Linked DNA regions of Homo sapiens: all the other regions are linked to region 3. Evidence: promoter capture Hi-C in human tissues and cell types (Jung and others, 2019). All regions are on one chromosome and are shown on one strand. Each heading gives the region's core, a stretch centred on a gene start or on the middle of the fragment in contact. The rest is flanking DNA. Distances are from core to core; before and after follow the strand shown.

Region 1 (3,780 bases), core at 1,136-3,635, 340 kb before region 3:
ACCAGGGGCAGGCAGGAGACAGTGGCCTTCCTCTATCTCAACTGCAAGAGGCTTTCCTCTTTTACTAATCCACCTCAGCACAGACCCTTTACGAGTGTCGGACTGGGGGACGGTCAGGTCTTTCTCATCCCACGAGGCCATATTTCAGACTATCATATGGGGAGAAACCTTGGACAATACCCGGCTTTCAAGGGCAGAGGTCCCTGCGGCTTTCCACAGTGCATTGTGCCCCAGGTTTATTGAGACTAGAGAATGGCAATGACTTTTACCAAGTATACTGCTTGTAAACATTTTGTTAACAAGGCACGTCCTGCACAGCCCTAGATCCCTTAAACCTTGATTTCATACAACACATGTTTTTGTGAGCTCCAGGTTGGGTCAAAGTGGCTGGGTCAAAGTGGCTGGGGCAAAGCTACAAATTAACAACATCTCTGCAAAGTAATTGTTTAAAGTACAGGTCTTTTTCAAAATGGAGTCTCTTATGTCTTCCCTTTCTACATAGGCACAGTAACAGTCTGATCTCTCTTTCTTTTCCCTACAATGAAGGACACAAATAATAGGCATGGTGCTGTAGTCAATTAGATATATTAATATAGAATTTATTGGAAAGATCTAGGTTAGAAATACTAATTTTGGTGTCACCAGCATATAGATGGCATTTAAAGCCATGGAAATATATGAAATAATCTATACAAAGGAAGAGAAAGTATTAGAAGAATTCATAAGTTGAAAATGAAAATGGCAAATGTGTCACCACCTTAGTTTTACTTTCTTATTGGTTGACATTGCTTCAAAGATCTCTCATGGAACTGCCCACAAGTTCATATTTTTTTCCCTTGACTGGATGAAAGTCAAAAGTGTGTCATAGGCTTTGCTGAAGTGATAGCAACATATGCTCTGGGAGGTTTCTTTAAGAAACCTACTTAACAAATCCTTCTCCCCACCTCACAGTTTCCCTTTCTATTTCTTTCTGTAAAAATTTTATTGATTATGAGAAAACCATCATTTTAGAGATTTCAGACTTTTTTTCTTTTTTTTTTTTTTGAGATGGAGTCTCGCTCTGTTGCCCAGGCTGGAGTGCAGTGGTGCAATCTCAGCTCACTGCAAGCTCCGCCTCTGGGGTTCACGCCATTCTCCTGCCTCAGCCTCCCGAATAGCTGGGACTACAGGCATCCGCCACCGCGCCCGGCTAATTTTTTGTGTTTGTAGTAGAGACGGGATTTCACCGTGTTAGCCAGGATGGTCTTGATCTCCTGACCTCGTGATCCACCCCCCTTGGCCTCCCAAAGTGCTGGGATTACAGGCGTGAGCCATCACGCCTGGCCGAGATTTCAGACTTTTAAGTCAAACGTATATTCAGAGCATAAAACATGATGGCATTATGAAAATCTTAGTGTGTAAGATAATAATGGCTGCTTTAACTTACAGGGTAGGAGATGGAAGTTATCTTTTTAAGATAAATATTTGAAGTCTATTTATATTGGTAAGATAACAGATAGAAACTCATAAAACATATAGAAACTTATAAAACATAAATATTATGTTCCACCCAACATGCTGGGGCAGTTGCTATCCCACTGGGCCCAGTTATTAGGCATATTTGTGTGGGGCAGCAAAGACACTGCTTTCTCATGCTCTTCCCAGGTAGAATCCATACAGAATGTCCTGGTGATGCTGCCAACAATCTGCAAGTGCCCAGCTGCCTTTTGAGGCCAACCCTCTAGGGTAAAGTTGGGGCTTCCCTTACTCTAATTCACCTGAGTAGTTGGTTAGCTGCTGTTGCAGCTCACCCCAGAGCCCAGATATTTGTTCTCTCCTGGGCCTCATCTTCTGTGCCAGGGAGAGGCTAGAATTGGTTGTGAAATCATTTAGTCTAATGCATCCAGACCAAGTGGAGCAGCTTGTGATTTCTGACTTGTCAGATTTTCAGTGGTTGCATACACAGCCTGTCCTGACATGTAGATACTGCAGATCAGCAGCCCCAGGATCCTTACAGTTCTTTGAACTTCCTCCACTGAGCTCCTGGCAAAAGTGAAGGAAGAGTGCCAATTAATAATCAGTATTTGAGGTGCATGCGATAGACAGATACTAACTGGAAGACATGGTTTAGAAGTTGTAATATTTATTTTCATCTTATTATATGAACTCTTTTTGCAGTGTCTGCTACATAGTTACAAACTAAGTGTCATGAATAAAGAATGAAGGAATGAAAGCTTAAAAAAAACCCCAAACATTAGTAGTATGTATAAGGTACACATGGACTTAATTTTAAAACACTAAATTAGTGTGTCATCTTTGAAATGCAGTCAAAGAAAGCTTGGTTACAAGTAAAACTTGTTAAATATTGTGGGATTCAAATTATCTCCTTGGGGTCATAACAGCTAAAAATTCTTTTTGTTGTTTTGACAAACTTAGAAGTGAGCCAAACTCAAAGATCTTTTTTACATTATTTCTGTTGTGTTAGGGTTCTCCAGAGAGAGAGAGAGAGAGTGTGTGTGTGTTTGTGTGTGTGTGTGTGTGTGTGTGTGTGTGTGTGTAAAGAGAGGGAAAAGGGAGAGACTTATTTTAAGGAATTGGTGTACATGATTGCGGATGCCACCAAGTTCAAAGTCAGTCTACAGGGTAGGCCAGCAGGAAGGATATCCAGGGAAGAGGTAGTGTTGGAGCTCGAGTCTGAAGGCAGTCTGCTGGCAGAATTCTTGCTTAGAGGAGGTCAGTCTTTTTTTATTGAAGGCCTCCAACTTCAATACAAAGCAATTGGATGAGGTCCACCTACATTATGGAGTGTAATCTGATTTACCTAGAGTCTAGAGATTTAAATATTAATTTCATCTAAAAAATATTTTCACGGAAACATTTTATGTTTGACCACATACCTAGGTACTGTGACTGAGCCAAAGTGACATACAAAATTAACCATCACAGCTATTAAGGCAGGTCTTATGCTGTTGATTTGGGACTAAATTTGTAACAGCTAGGATTTGAAATTGGCTCTTTATTTTTTTTTTTTTTTTTTGAGACAGAGTCTCTGTTGCCCAGGCTGGAGGGCAGTGGCGCGATCTCGGCTCACTGCACTCTCTGCTTCCCAGGTTCAAACAATTCTCCTGCTTCAGCCACCTGAGTAGCTGGGATTACAGGTGTGCACTATGCCTGGCTAATTTTTGTATTTTCGGTAGAGTCGGGGTTTCACCGTGTTGGCTGGGCTGTTCTCTTAACTCCTGGCCTCAAGTGATCTGCCTGCCTCAGCCTCCCAGAGTGCTGGGCTTACAGGCGTGACCCATCACACCTGGCCTGAAATTATTAGCTCTTTGAGTTAGTTCCTAGTTTATGTGTGGACCTAAGCATATTAACCATTTAGCTTCAGTGTCTTATAAATATAAATATCAGGATTGCATTAGCTGGGCATGTTGGTACATGATTGTAATCCCAGTTTCTTGGGAGGCTGAGGTCAGAGGTTGAGCCCAGGAGTTTGAGGCTGCAGTGAGCTAGGATTGCACCACTGCATGCCAGCCTGGGTGACAGAATGAGACCCATTCACTAACTACCTAACTAAATAAATACATTTCAGGATCATATTCCATAGACCTAGGACTTTTTCGAGGTTCAAATAAAATAGTTCATGTAAAACACATTGTGAACTCTAAAATTTTTGGTAAACCAAATGTATCATTTTTTATTCTACATTTGTAAAATGAGGTGCTTACTAACCAAAAAAATCCAAAGTAGACAGATAACTACTGAAAGTTCATTTTAAAGGTTTAAAATTACTATATTATTTGG
Region 2 (3,667 bases), core at 287-2,786, 370 kb after region 3:
TTGTATGTACATTTCACCTTCATTTTGAAAGAAAAAGAACCATACATCAGAGATGTATAACACACTACATTCAATCTAGTTTTGTCCATAACAATGGCAGTAAATCTAGCTTTCATGGAATATCTAAAGCAGATCATGATTTTTATTTTAAAACAGAATAGCAAAAGATCAACAGTTTTGGCTTGATAGTAATTAAAAACTTCTGTATCAAATAATACAAAACAAAAGGAAAACAACAGACTGGGGTTAAGTTTTTGGCAATAAAAATGACAAAAGGCTAATTTCATTTGTAGGTTTGGAGTTCAAAAATAGGCAAAGGAAATGAAGAAACAATTCACAAAAGAAGCAATTCAACTAGAAACAAACATGGGGAAATGATCATTCTCACTAATGATCAATGCAAAGTTTAGAATTATGTACCATTTTTGCCTCCTAACTTACTGATATTCTAATAATATTGTTCATGATGCTGGAAACTGTATACAATCGTTTCAGAATATGTTTTGGGTGTGTATAACCAAGGTTGTAAAATTTTTCATATCCTCAGACCTAGAAATAACATTTCCATGAATCTATTCTAACAAAATTATGTGTGTGCATGTTTTAAAAAGCTATCTCCACCAAGAACTTCATCACAGCATTATTTTTAAAATGAAATCATTGGGAGAAACCTAAATGTACAAAAAAAAAAGAGTAAACAAGTAAACAATATACATCCTCTCAAAAGAATCTTATACAGTCTTTTCAAATGTTAATATGAAGTCTACATAGCCACATAAAAAATGCTTACAACCTAATGTTAAGTTGTACAGTATGATCACATCTATGTAAAAAACATAAAAATAAAACAGACTATAAAGGAATGTGCAAAAAGAGCATGGTTCTTAGTTTAGACTGGTATATTTTTGATAAATTTATGAATATTTTAAAAAGTTTTATTAAATTTTGTGCAAAAAACTTGCATTATTTGTAAAATTTCAAAATCACTGAAAAACAGGCTATAAAAAATAATGTAATTAAATAACAGAATGTGGGTTGTCATTCTTTCAAAGACTAGCATGAAAACAACATAATGTATTTCTTAAGAATGTCAGAACATTAAGTGGAAGAAAATAAACATTTCTTCTCGACTCAAACTTGGACTGTCTATTAAGCACAATAGCTTTTCTCCTTACCAAACTTTTTTTTTTACTATTTTACAAACAACCAAACCACCAAATGACAGTATCTCAAGTGCTCTTATTTCATTCCAAAAAGAGAATAAAAGACAAGGTAAATTCAGGCCACAGCATACTGCTTAAGGATACATTATAGTATAAAACATAAAGAATATTTTTAATAGAAATCATTGTGTCAACCCACAAGTAAGGACTAGGCATGCACAACACATTAATTCTGAGATGGATACACTGTAATTTGAGTAGCAATTCATAGGTAGACTCCAGGGGTTTAGAAACATCCTCCCACCCGCTGCAGAAGAATCTGTTCTCATAACAAGCATGGCCTAGAGTAGAAAGCCCTACAAAAAATACGTTTCTCAAAGGACAGAGCTAGTGATTTTCATGAAAATATACTTTGAATCAGGATTTCCCTAAAGAAATATTGATGAAGTCCTGTAATTTCCTCCATTAAAATGCCACTCTTTACCAAGATGTATTGGATAAGGAAACACAAACTGTTTCTCTGAAAATGATAAAGCAATATACAGGTATTTTCTCCCATATAAGATGAGAAAATGCATGGGACTCATTACTACAAGAAGTGGTATGTGCCCAAAATTTGTAATCGTTTCTAACGTGATCTGGATAACATCTTAGATGGTAACCCATGGCAAAACAGGAGAAGGTAGAATGTTCAGAGGACACCCATTCGTTAGCTCTGAAAGACAGCAAGAACCTTCCACCTCCAGACTCCATGTCAGAGCCAAACTTGACTCCAATAGGAGATAGTGCTTGCCAATTCATTAATTCTTGGACCATTAGAATGTAATTGATAAATAAAAATATAAAGGTTCATTTCAAGTACCTTTTGTTTCTGCACTACTGAGTTTTTCTCTCAAATTATTAAAAATTATTCAAATTAACCAAAACATATGCAGCTTCATTTTGAATGTCGGTCATAATTAGAGACTTTAGGAACCTTTAGGCCAGGTGCGGTGGCTCAAGCCTATAATCCCAACACTTTGGGAGGCCAAGATGGGTGGATCACCTGAGGTCAGGAGTTTGAGAGGAGCCTGACCAACATGGTGAAACCCCGTCTCTACTGAAAACACAAAAAATTAGCCAGGCATGGTGGCAGGCGCCTGTAATCCCAGCTACTTGGGAGGCTGAGGAAGGAGAATCACTTGAACCTGGGAGGCAGAGGGTGCAGTGAGCTGAGATTGCGCCACTGCACTCCAGCCTGGGTGACAGAGTGAGACTCCATCTCAAAAAAAAAAAAAAAAAAAGAAAGAAAAGAGACTTTAGGAACCTTTAAAAATCCTAGGGAAAAAGTCTGCTCTTAGGCTTGGATGTAATGGCCCAGAACATGAAAAAGACACAAGAGAATACATCCAATTGATAGGTGCCTTTTCTCAGCTAAAAGGTGTTATTTCTACATTACATGCCTCCACTTTGCATGAATCTACCTGGCAAGAATATCTCATGCTATTGCTTATTTATTTATTGCCGTGGGAAACTGAGAGCCATTTTACTATAGGAGATGCAAGCCAAGCAAAAGCAGATTTCCTGAGCAAGGATGTCTCAAGAGACATCTCATAACACATCACAGGATTAGCAGAGTTCTCAAAACAGTAATAGATGCATTTCTATCACCTGAAACAGCTGACAGAAAAAAAAACATGGAGGAAACATGTTGCAAATTTTCTTTATACTCTGTCAAGGGTTTTTCTCGGGACACAGCTTCATGAGAGTTCTATGCTCACCTATTTAACCACCTCTGGGAACAAAAGGACAGGAATGAGTACATGCAACACAAACTACTCCCATTCCACCAAGGCGTCTACACTTACTTGCTCATCTCCCAACCCACCATCTGGGTGAGGAAGGGCACAGTGGATGTGACAATGAGGATGAAAACACGTGGTAGGATGGTGGAGGCGGCCAGAAGAGGCAGCATTGGTCTGGCTCTTCCTGATTGAGAACATCAATCCAAGGCATCAGGCACCTCTCCTTTGCTCTTCTCTCCTTCTCTCCAGAGCCCAGCAAAGACACAATGGCGCTACCCCTATTGGCAACAACACCCTCTGCCCTTCCAAGCCCCACGGGACTCCCTATTACTCTACTTTACCCTATGTCTGTTCTTTTCCCTGGCACTCATTCAACTGCAAATGTGAGGTCAAGGTAAGGAAGCCCAACGCTGATAAGTTGATGAGGAGAAGGCCCTGGGCCAGGAGTAAAGTGGGCCTAGGAATGCCAACTGCCTGCCTGGCACCTCCAGTGGAATTAAGCTTTTCTTACATTTCTCCAGAACTAGCATGAGAGTCCAGCTGCTCTTTCTTTGGCCACAGAGTCTTTGTCCAGAATGCAAACGAGGAACACAGGAAGCTGCTTTTTTTTTTTTTTTTTTTTTTGAGACAAGGTCTCACTCTGTTACCTAAGCTGGAGTGCAGTGGCACGATCACAACTCACTGCAGCCCTGACCACCCAGGCTCCTAAGTAACTGGGAC
Region 3 (3,849 bases), core at 1,223-3,722:
GCAAAATGAAATAGGGTTCAGCCTGCCCTTATAAAGAAAAAAGTTACATACGCAACTAAACCCCTCTGGTTTGTGGGGTTCAGGGCAAAAGTACAAAGCCCCGCACCCATAGTTATTTTCTAGTGTTAATCAAGCTAGCAAATTCTCACGTATTCCTCCTCCCTTGACAAAGGTAGCTTTATAACAGCCTAGAAGGCCAGGGACAATTTAGAATTTTCAGACTTTTCAAAGTTATGGGTCAGACACAGAAATAGCAGACCTGGCCAATGAACAGAGCCCCTTCCCTTCCCCACCCAAGCTCCCTCTCTCCTAGGGGGGCCTCTTGGGCACCCACGGGGACTCCCTCCACTCCTACCCAGCCCACATTTCCAAGCACTTTTACGCCCCAGCAAACAGCTGCCCCTTTGTGAGCTCTCCAGGGATCAGGTCTGCCTTCTTTTCTAGGGCTCAGGCCTTAGAAGCTGGTATGGGTCCCTTTGGGCTGGGTATTCATTCCATCCAGGTCTTGGGAGGGAGGGGGCAGCATGGTCTCTGGGTAGCAAGCCCCTTTGGACCTACAGACTTCCAGCTCTGTGGGGAGGGGCACACCCCCCCCCAACCCCCAGAAGGCCAGACTGGGCCCTTTAAACCCAGGGGATAAGGATAAGGGGGTTCTTCCGCCCAGGTCTGAAGGCCATACTGGCTGAGAGCCTTCTCTATATTACACTAACTAGATCAACTTTTTCTTTCCTTGAAGCTTTCTGGGAGGGTGATTCCTATACAAGGAATAAAGATGAATAAATAGATGGTATAAGAGAAGATTCCTGTTCAAAAGGGGTGAAAGAAAAAAAGTTGAAATCTTTGTGGCTATCTAGAAAAAAATTGACAGCTGATATCATGGTCTGAAAGGTAGAAAAGGTAAAATATTCCTCAAACAGCAAATGTGTTGACAGCGTTCTAGAAAGTCTGAGATGGGATCCTTGCCTCATGGCATAACTTGGGCAAACCTTAAACTGTGTTCTTTCTGTGTTTGAAAGTGGATGTCCTACCCAGACCTTTGCAGAGACACCAAAAGAGCTGGATGAAGACCTGCCAGAGGCACCAGGGCAGCCAAGCTGAATCCTAGGACGTGGACACACTGAGTCAAGCTGGGCAAGGGAGGTTTGGGTCCGCTGCAAACACAAAGGCCTGAGGGACCCCCATGGGAGGCAGGCATAGGAGCTCACGGTCAGAGGAGCAGCAACGGCATGGGCTTCACCCCCACAGCTGACCTAGCATCGGCTTTGCCTTTTCTCAATCAGGGCAAGTTGGTCAGTTCTCCAGGCCTCCATGTTTTAATTCTCTAGAATAGCGATATCACCTGCCCGCATCACCAGGTGGTGATGCCCTTAAGAACTTAGCACGATCTGGCACATGGTAAATTCTCAAGATGCTTCATCTAGAACTGAAAGCGTACGGGTCAGAGCTAGCGCTGAACCCAAGATGTGGGTCACCACAGACCCCAAGCTGGGTGTGCTGCGGGCGGAGGAGTGGACGGGGTTTTGAGGAGAGGGGCACACCGGAACACATAAGGTACAGCGGTCAAGAGGTTAAGTGTTACAGGTCCCTATCCTGTTTTGGGGCAGGGGAAGGTGTTGCTTTTGCAAGTCGCCCAGCCAGAGATGGAAAGAACAGGCACCTAAGGCCCCAAGTTGCTGGCATCCGTGAGCTCCGAGGGGGAGAAGGACGAAGCCGCCCTGCACCCCGCTGGGCTCCAGGGCCGCGCGGGTGCCAGTGGAGAGGCCGGGAGGGCTCGGAAGAAAAACGCCCGGCTCACTGGAGTCGGAGACGCAGCCACTCACCCAGCAGCAGCAGCTTAAGCTCACGGCGCGCGTCCTTCTTGTCCCGACGAAGCTGTCGCTCGATCTCCGCGCTGATGCGCTGCGACTCCTTCTCCTCCGCGGACAGGCAGCAGCAGCCGGCCATGGTGCGCTCAGCTCAGTACCCGACGGGGCGACGCGGCCCCGGGCACCCGAATCCTCGGCCCGGCCGCTCACCCGGCCAGCATGCGACGGGCACAGGGGTGTGGAAAGAAAAGACGGGGGCCGACTTGAGCTTTGGAGTAAGACGCCTGGACCTCCGAGGCTCAATCCCCCTTCGAAAGTCGGCTCTGAGGCGGGGTGAATGCCGAGCGCTGGGAACGCTCGAGTGCACCCCGGATCCGGGCTCAGCCCGCCCCACTCTCGCTCTGGGGAGGAGGAGGGCGAGTCGAGAAGTTGGGAGCGTTGCTGGCCCCGGGAAGATGCGCGCGCCCCTTGGCACAGGAGCCGGACAGCAGTCGGGGGCGCAGACGAGTTGGAACGTCGGTGCTCGGGGGAGAGTAGGATCTCCTGGGCCTAGGGGTGTCCCCAGGCGGGAGGTAGGCGCGGAGTGGGTTGGAGGCAAAGGACCTGGCTGGCCTTTGCCTGGAAAGTTCTGAAAACCTCAGCAGTGACCGCAGACTAAGACTGAGTGGAAAGGTTCCCGCTAGCGTTTGTGGCTCTAAGTGGCAGGAGGAGGCGGAGCATCTTGAACCTGCAGCCCTGGCGTCTGCTGGACTTGCCCTTCTGGGCACCCCAAGCCGAAGGCGCCTGGAAGTGAAAGGGGACGAGCAGGGGGCGCGGAGCTGGGGGTGGGAGCTGGCACCTCTAGGAGCAGCTCCCACACTTGCCTCCCTGGCTGGGGCGTCCCGGCCAAGGTTTGCTGTAATCTGCGCGTCTGGCCGCCAGGCACCGGGTTCCGACAGGTGAGTGAGTTTCGCCAACTCACTCGCTCGGAGAAGGCGGCAGCAGGCTGGAAGAGGAGCGGCGCCAAGCGTCTGTTGCGGGACACAAAGCCCCGGACCTGAAGTGGAAGCTTGCCCACCAGCTTCACCACCACGCACACCCGGATTTCCTAGACTGGCTCCTTCCGCTTCCCGGACGCCCCGGCCCAGCTCGGGCTTGGCCAAAGCCCTTGGTCAGCTCGGCAATTTGCCTGTAAAGTGTGGCTGGGCCTGAGCCTGCTGGCTCTGAGCTCGGAGAAGGAGCCGCCGCTGGGTTCAGTTATAAGAGAACTGCAAGAGCCCAGGGTAAATATCCTCTCGGTCTCCGGACGAGGGGGCTGGGGAGAAAGGGAACGGCTGATTGCTTTGCATTTTATGATGGGAAAGACACCTGCTTTGTAGAAAGGGCTGATACGTTCCTAGTAGCACCTGGCAAGTTTCCTGCCCAGCCCTGAAGCCTAACAGCCGCCTTGCGATTGTGTCCGCACTGACACCTTGGCCTGTATCCTGGACCGTCGGGGTCAAGTTTGAGCAGCATTAATAAAAACTTTAAAAGCACCTCTTAGTACTTAAGTGACACGATAAAATGCATATTACAACATCTGACTTTTGTCTGTGTAGATTTTGATGCAGAAAAGGGAAGGTGGGGAGAGGGGATCCTATTGGCCACAGCAATGAACGTTCTTTCCTTCTCAAGTCAGTATAGGCCATATGCTAATGGGGCGTTAGGCAATTAGCTAGCGCTTCCTCTACTAAGAGCAGGCATAAGTGCCTTTCATTTGAGTAGCATATATTTTATAAATTCAAACTGAGGAGCACATTGAGTGGAATGGTACGTGTCATTATATAAAGAAGTTGGTATCGCGATGCTATCTGGCTGCATGTTCTTATTATTTTACAGTTTAAGAAATGTAGAGGAATCAGACATTAAAAATGTGCATACATGCTTTAATGTGTGACTATTTTAGTTTTCTTGCAGGCATAAATTGACAGTAACAGTGACCCCTACAGGAAAACTCCTGGACATTTCAGATTTGATCTTTGGCCATTTAATAGCCTGTTTCTTCTCTCTTAGCTCTTACGGATTC
Region 4 (3,994 bases), core at 407-2,906, 400 kb after region 3:
CTTCTTCCTCCGCTGCCTGGCCACCGCATGTCACAGAAGGGCTCCAAACCACATTGTCCTCACCCTGGAATCCCAGGTTAATGATCTACATCATCTACAGTTGAGGCAGAGGGCAAAGAGGGGACTGGATAGTGCAGCGCCAACACTTAAATGCTCTAGTTGGAAGGGATGCATTCATTTTCACTCACATTTCCTTGGCCAAAGCAAGTCACATGGCCGTGCTTAACTTCAATGGACCATGTGACTGGAAATGGGAGAAATGAGAAATGGGAATTTCCATGAGCATTAGCAGTGGCTACCAGGTAATGACAAATGTTAAATTCTAAAGAGGAGATGCTGTAAAGGGGAGAAAATTCAAGGCATTTAACTATAGCTTACCTGGAGTCCAAACTTCTATTTCTCTGGAAATTCTGGTGGGGCTTAATTTTCAGCAGACTGGGAGTCCTGTTCCAACTGAGAGCTTGAGAAGGAGGAGCACGGACATGACAGGGCTGATTCTGTGGCATGATGTCATTACAGAAGCTCCACAGCAGTGGCACCTTGAGCTCATGACTGAATCCAAGGAATTCTAAGCGTGCCCTGGCTGTTAGGGTGGTCACCTTACCTCTTCTTCAAACTCGTACTTTTAGATACTTGTTGGCGAACTGACACTCCCCAAGCAGGGTCATTATAATTTAGCTCTCCTGGGGGTTAAAATCATTTGTGTGCATTCAAATACGTAATAATGTCAAACAGCTGAATGATATCAAAAGGCATGTTTATCTCAGATGAATTTGGGAAATTTAGTTTTAAGTAAGGTAAGTAAAAAGCCACCCTGTCAACTCTTCCTGGTGACAATGACAAAACCACAGACTCTTCATTTCTGGAGGGGCTTCTTGGGCACTTTATAATGCCCAAATATTTGTAGGGCATCTGCTGTGCTCCTGGGACTGTGCAGGGTGCAGCTCCTGACCTTCAGCAATTACGCAGTCATACCAGCAAAATGACAAGAGAAAGTAAGTGCTCACTTACCAAGGCATTTATTTTAAACATAGTTCAAATTTGGAGGATCTTAGGAAGTTTCAGAAAAATGCTGGTTTCACATTCCTGTTAACAAGAAAGAAGCTTGTGGCTTTTCTCTCCTTAATAAGCTTTTCTAAATGAAGAGATTTCTAACTTAAATGTAGTTCATCCAATCTAAAGAGAGGGGAGGGGAAGAATCAAGTAAATTCTGCAGAAATTATTTATTTTACTATAGCACCATGCAAATGTCATGTCAGTGCCAGCAGAAAGTATGAGCTATAAACATTCTCCAGCATGGGATGTATTTTGGCTAATTAACAGTATACAGTCTACAAGTCAAGCTTCTTAACTGATTTGCAAAAGGTTAGGGTTATGAAAACAGGCTTCATGGTCAACACTACACTTTTTTCTTGAATAGATTGTGGTGAACTGCTTGACCAGAGTCAAGTATGTGGTTCAGTTTCTGTCTGCATGGGATCATTTAATTAACTGTGAGCCAAGTAATAAGTGTTTGCATATTTTAACAAAGTGTGAGAAAATGAAGAGCCCTAGAAATGCACTTTGTTCTTTAAAATGTTTTATTCCCTTTCTTGCTCAGCTATAAGAACTGTTTATAAATTTTATCCTTTCAAAACAAGATGTATATGATATAAATGAAATATTTGACATTTATTAAAAATTTGAAGAAATACAAATGTATTTCCAGAAAAACTTTTGTGATGAATTTCTTGCAAATCTTAGGAAGTCTTTAAAAGGGAAGAAAATGCCTTCAGAGGCCTTTTTCTACTTGTCAACGGTCAATTGAGTTAATTTGACCAAAAGTAGAAAGTCTTATACTTTATAATTTACTTTGGTGACATTGTATCTTCATGTAACAAATATTGTTCATACTAGAAAAACAATTCTGGCATCATTTATTCTCAAGCAGGGACTGAAAATGATGATACAGCCATCTCATAGTAATTGTTGCAAAATTGGAGACAATGAAATCTTGTTTTATGTGTCACACCCGTATGCCCAATTCATTGAAAATGTAGTTGTAGTTAGGAGCATCAACAAGTTCAAAAGGCACTAACATTTTTCATGGCTCTGTACTTTAATGGCTCAGTGGTTTGTTGAAAAAGATACAGCTTAAAACATTGGAGATTTAAAAATATGGGCTAATTATAGCCAAGAAATTAAAAATTGAGTACATTTAACAGACTGATGCAGTAAGGCTTTCCTTAAAACTATGTTATTATTTAAAGGGGATAGTTCTTATTTTGCATATTCTCAGCTGAGGTTTTTAATTTCTTCCATGTTTTTGGTGCTTTTAGAAGATGATTATTTTAATTTTGATCTCTCGGTTCCTGGATATAATCTCCCGTCCTCCTATTCTCATCTTGCAAACTGTATCAATTCATATTCTTTGGTGGAGATTTATTTTTCGTTTTAAATTAATTGTCAAGCATTAGTGATAGTATGAAGAAATGGGCATGCTCTTGTCTTATAAATTGGCATTCCTTTTCTGGAGAGAAATTTGGCAACAGAAAAATAAAGCCTGAAAAATACACATATCCATTGACCTACCAGCGACATTTCTAGAAATTTATCTGAAGGATATAATCAGGATGTGAACAAATATTTATTTATGGAGTGTTTATCACAATTAAAACAGATTACACAAAATATGGAAACAACCCAGGAGTTAAATATTAGAGAACAGACTAAATACATTATACCATATCCATATGATGGAATATGAAGTAATTATCATGCCACATAAAAAATACCTAATGATAGTGGAAAAAGTAATATCAGATAAAATTCTTTGTTAAATAAAAAAGTAGGTGTCAAATGATGTGAAAGAATGATCCTAATTATGTTCTAAAAATTTGTATATACACATATACATAATAGGAGTACATACATGTGCTTAGATGGCTGTGCATCAAATATCAGCAGCTGTATTTCTCAGGAGGGGGATTGTGGGTAATTTTTACTTTATATTTTTTGCTCGTCTGTATTTTTATTTTCAAAATAAAACCATTTTACTTTTGAAATTTGAAAAATACCCCAATAATTTTTTTTTTTTTTGAGATGGAGTCCCACTCTGTCACCCAGGCTGGTGTGCAGTGGTGCGATCTAGGCTCACTGCAACCTCTGCCTCCTGGGTTCAAACAATTCTCCTGCCTCAGCCTCCCAAGTAGCTGGGATTACAGGCGCACGCCACCACACCCAGTTAATTTTTGTATTTTTAGTAGAGAAAGGATTTGGCCATGTTGGCCAGGCTGCTCTCGAACTCCTGACCTCAGGTGATCCACCCATCTCGGCCTCCCAAAGTGCTGGGATTACAGGCGTGAGCCACCGTGCCCACCCCCCCGAATAAATTTTTTAAAATATATTTGTCCAGGCATGGTGGCTCACGCCTGTAATCCCAGCACTTTGGGAGGCCAAGGCAGGCAGATCACGAGGTCAGGAGATTGAGACCATCCTGGCTAACATGGTGAAACCTATCTCTACTAAAAATACAAAAAATTAGCTGGGCATGGTGGCACGCGCCTGTAGTACCAGCTACTCAGGAGGCTGAGGCAGAGAATCGCTTGAACCCAGGAGGCAGAAGTTGCAGTGAGCCAAGATCGTGCCACTGCACTCCAGCCTGGGTGACAGAGCAAGACTCCGTCTGAAAAAAAAAAAAAAAAAAAAAAACAAACCCAAAAACATTTATTAGATGCACAACAAGGTGAATGCACTTAATGCTATAGAACTGTACATTTAAGAATGGTTAAAACGGTAACCATTCATATATATTTATCACAATAAAAAGACATTTATTAGAAAATCTAAGTGGCCTTATTGGGTTTGGTGATTATTTTTTAGATACAACACCAAAAGTGCGGTCCATAAAAGAAAAAATTGGACTTCACTAAAATTAAAAACTTCTCCTCTGAAGAAGACACTGTTGAGAGATGAAAGGACAAACCACAGGCCAGGCACAGTGGCTCACACCTGT

Evidence for each region. Contacts are between HindIII fragments. The study calls those that stand out against the background at their distance.
Region 1: a contact is called between a fragment that was not itself captured here and the fragment with the promoter of GNA14 in region 3, in 1 of the 25 tissues and cell types used here (mesendoderm cells).
Region 2: a fragment that was not itself captured here is called in contact with the fragment with the promoter of GNA14 in region 3 in 1 of the 25 tissues and cell types used here (dorsolateral prefrontal cortex).
Region 4: a contact is called between a fragment that was not itself captured here and the fragment with the promoter of GNA14 in region 3, in 1 of the 25 tissues and cell types used here (mesenchymal stem cells).

What each region holds. Positions count from the first base shown.
Region 1 is chr9:77,303,913-77,307,692 of GRCh38, forward strand. All of the region lies in intron 34 of VPS13A (vacuolar protein sorting 13 homolog A), which reads left to right. Among named protein-coding and RNA genes, the nearest start is that of VPS13A-AS1, 130 kb to the left of the region's middle. The HindIII fragment of the contact is 5,520 bases long and covers 1-3,780 here.
Region 2 is chr9:78,017,497-78,021,163 of GRCh38, forward strand. The region is part of intron 1 of GNAQ (G protein subunit alpha q); the gene reads right to left. Among named protein-coding and RNA genes, the nearest start is that of GNAQ, 12 kb to the right of the region's middle. The HindIII fragment of the contact is 5,103 bases long and covers 1-3,667 here.
Region 3 is chr9:77,645,850-77,649,698 of GRCh38, forward strand. GNA14 (G protein subunit alpha 14) reads right to left here and starts at 2,473. Exons shown (of 7, transcript NM_004297.4): 1 at 1,821-2,473. The coding sequence starts at 1,944. The HindIII fragment of the contact is 8,690 bases long and covers 1-3,849 here.
Region 4 is chr9:78,044,895-78,048,888 of GRCh38, forward strand. No RefSeq gene overlaps it. Among named protein-coding and RNA genes, the nearest start is that of GNAQ, 15 kb to the left of the region's middle. The HindIII fragment of the contact is 4,371 bases long and covers 1-3,842 here.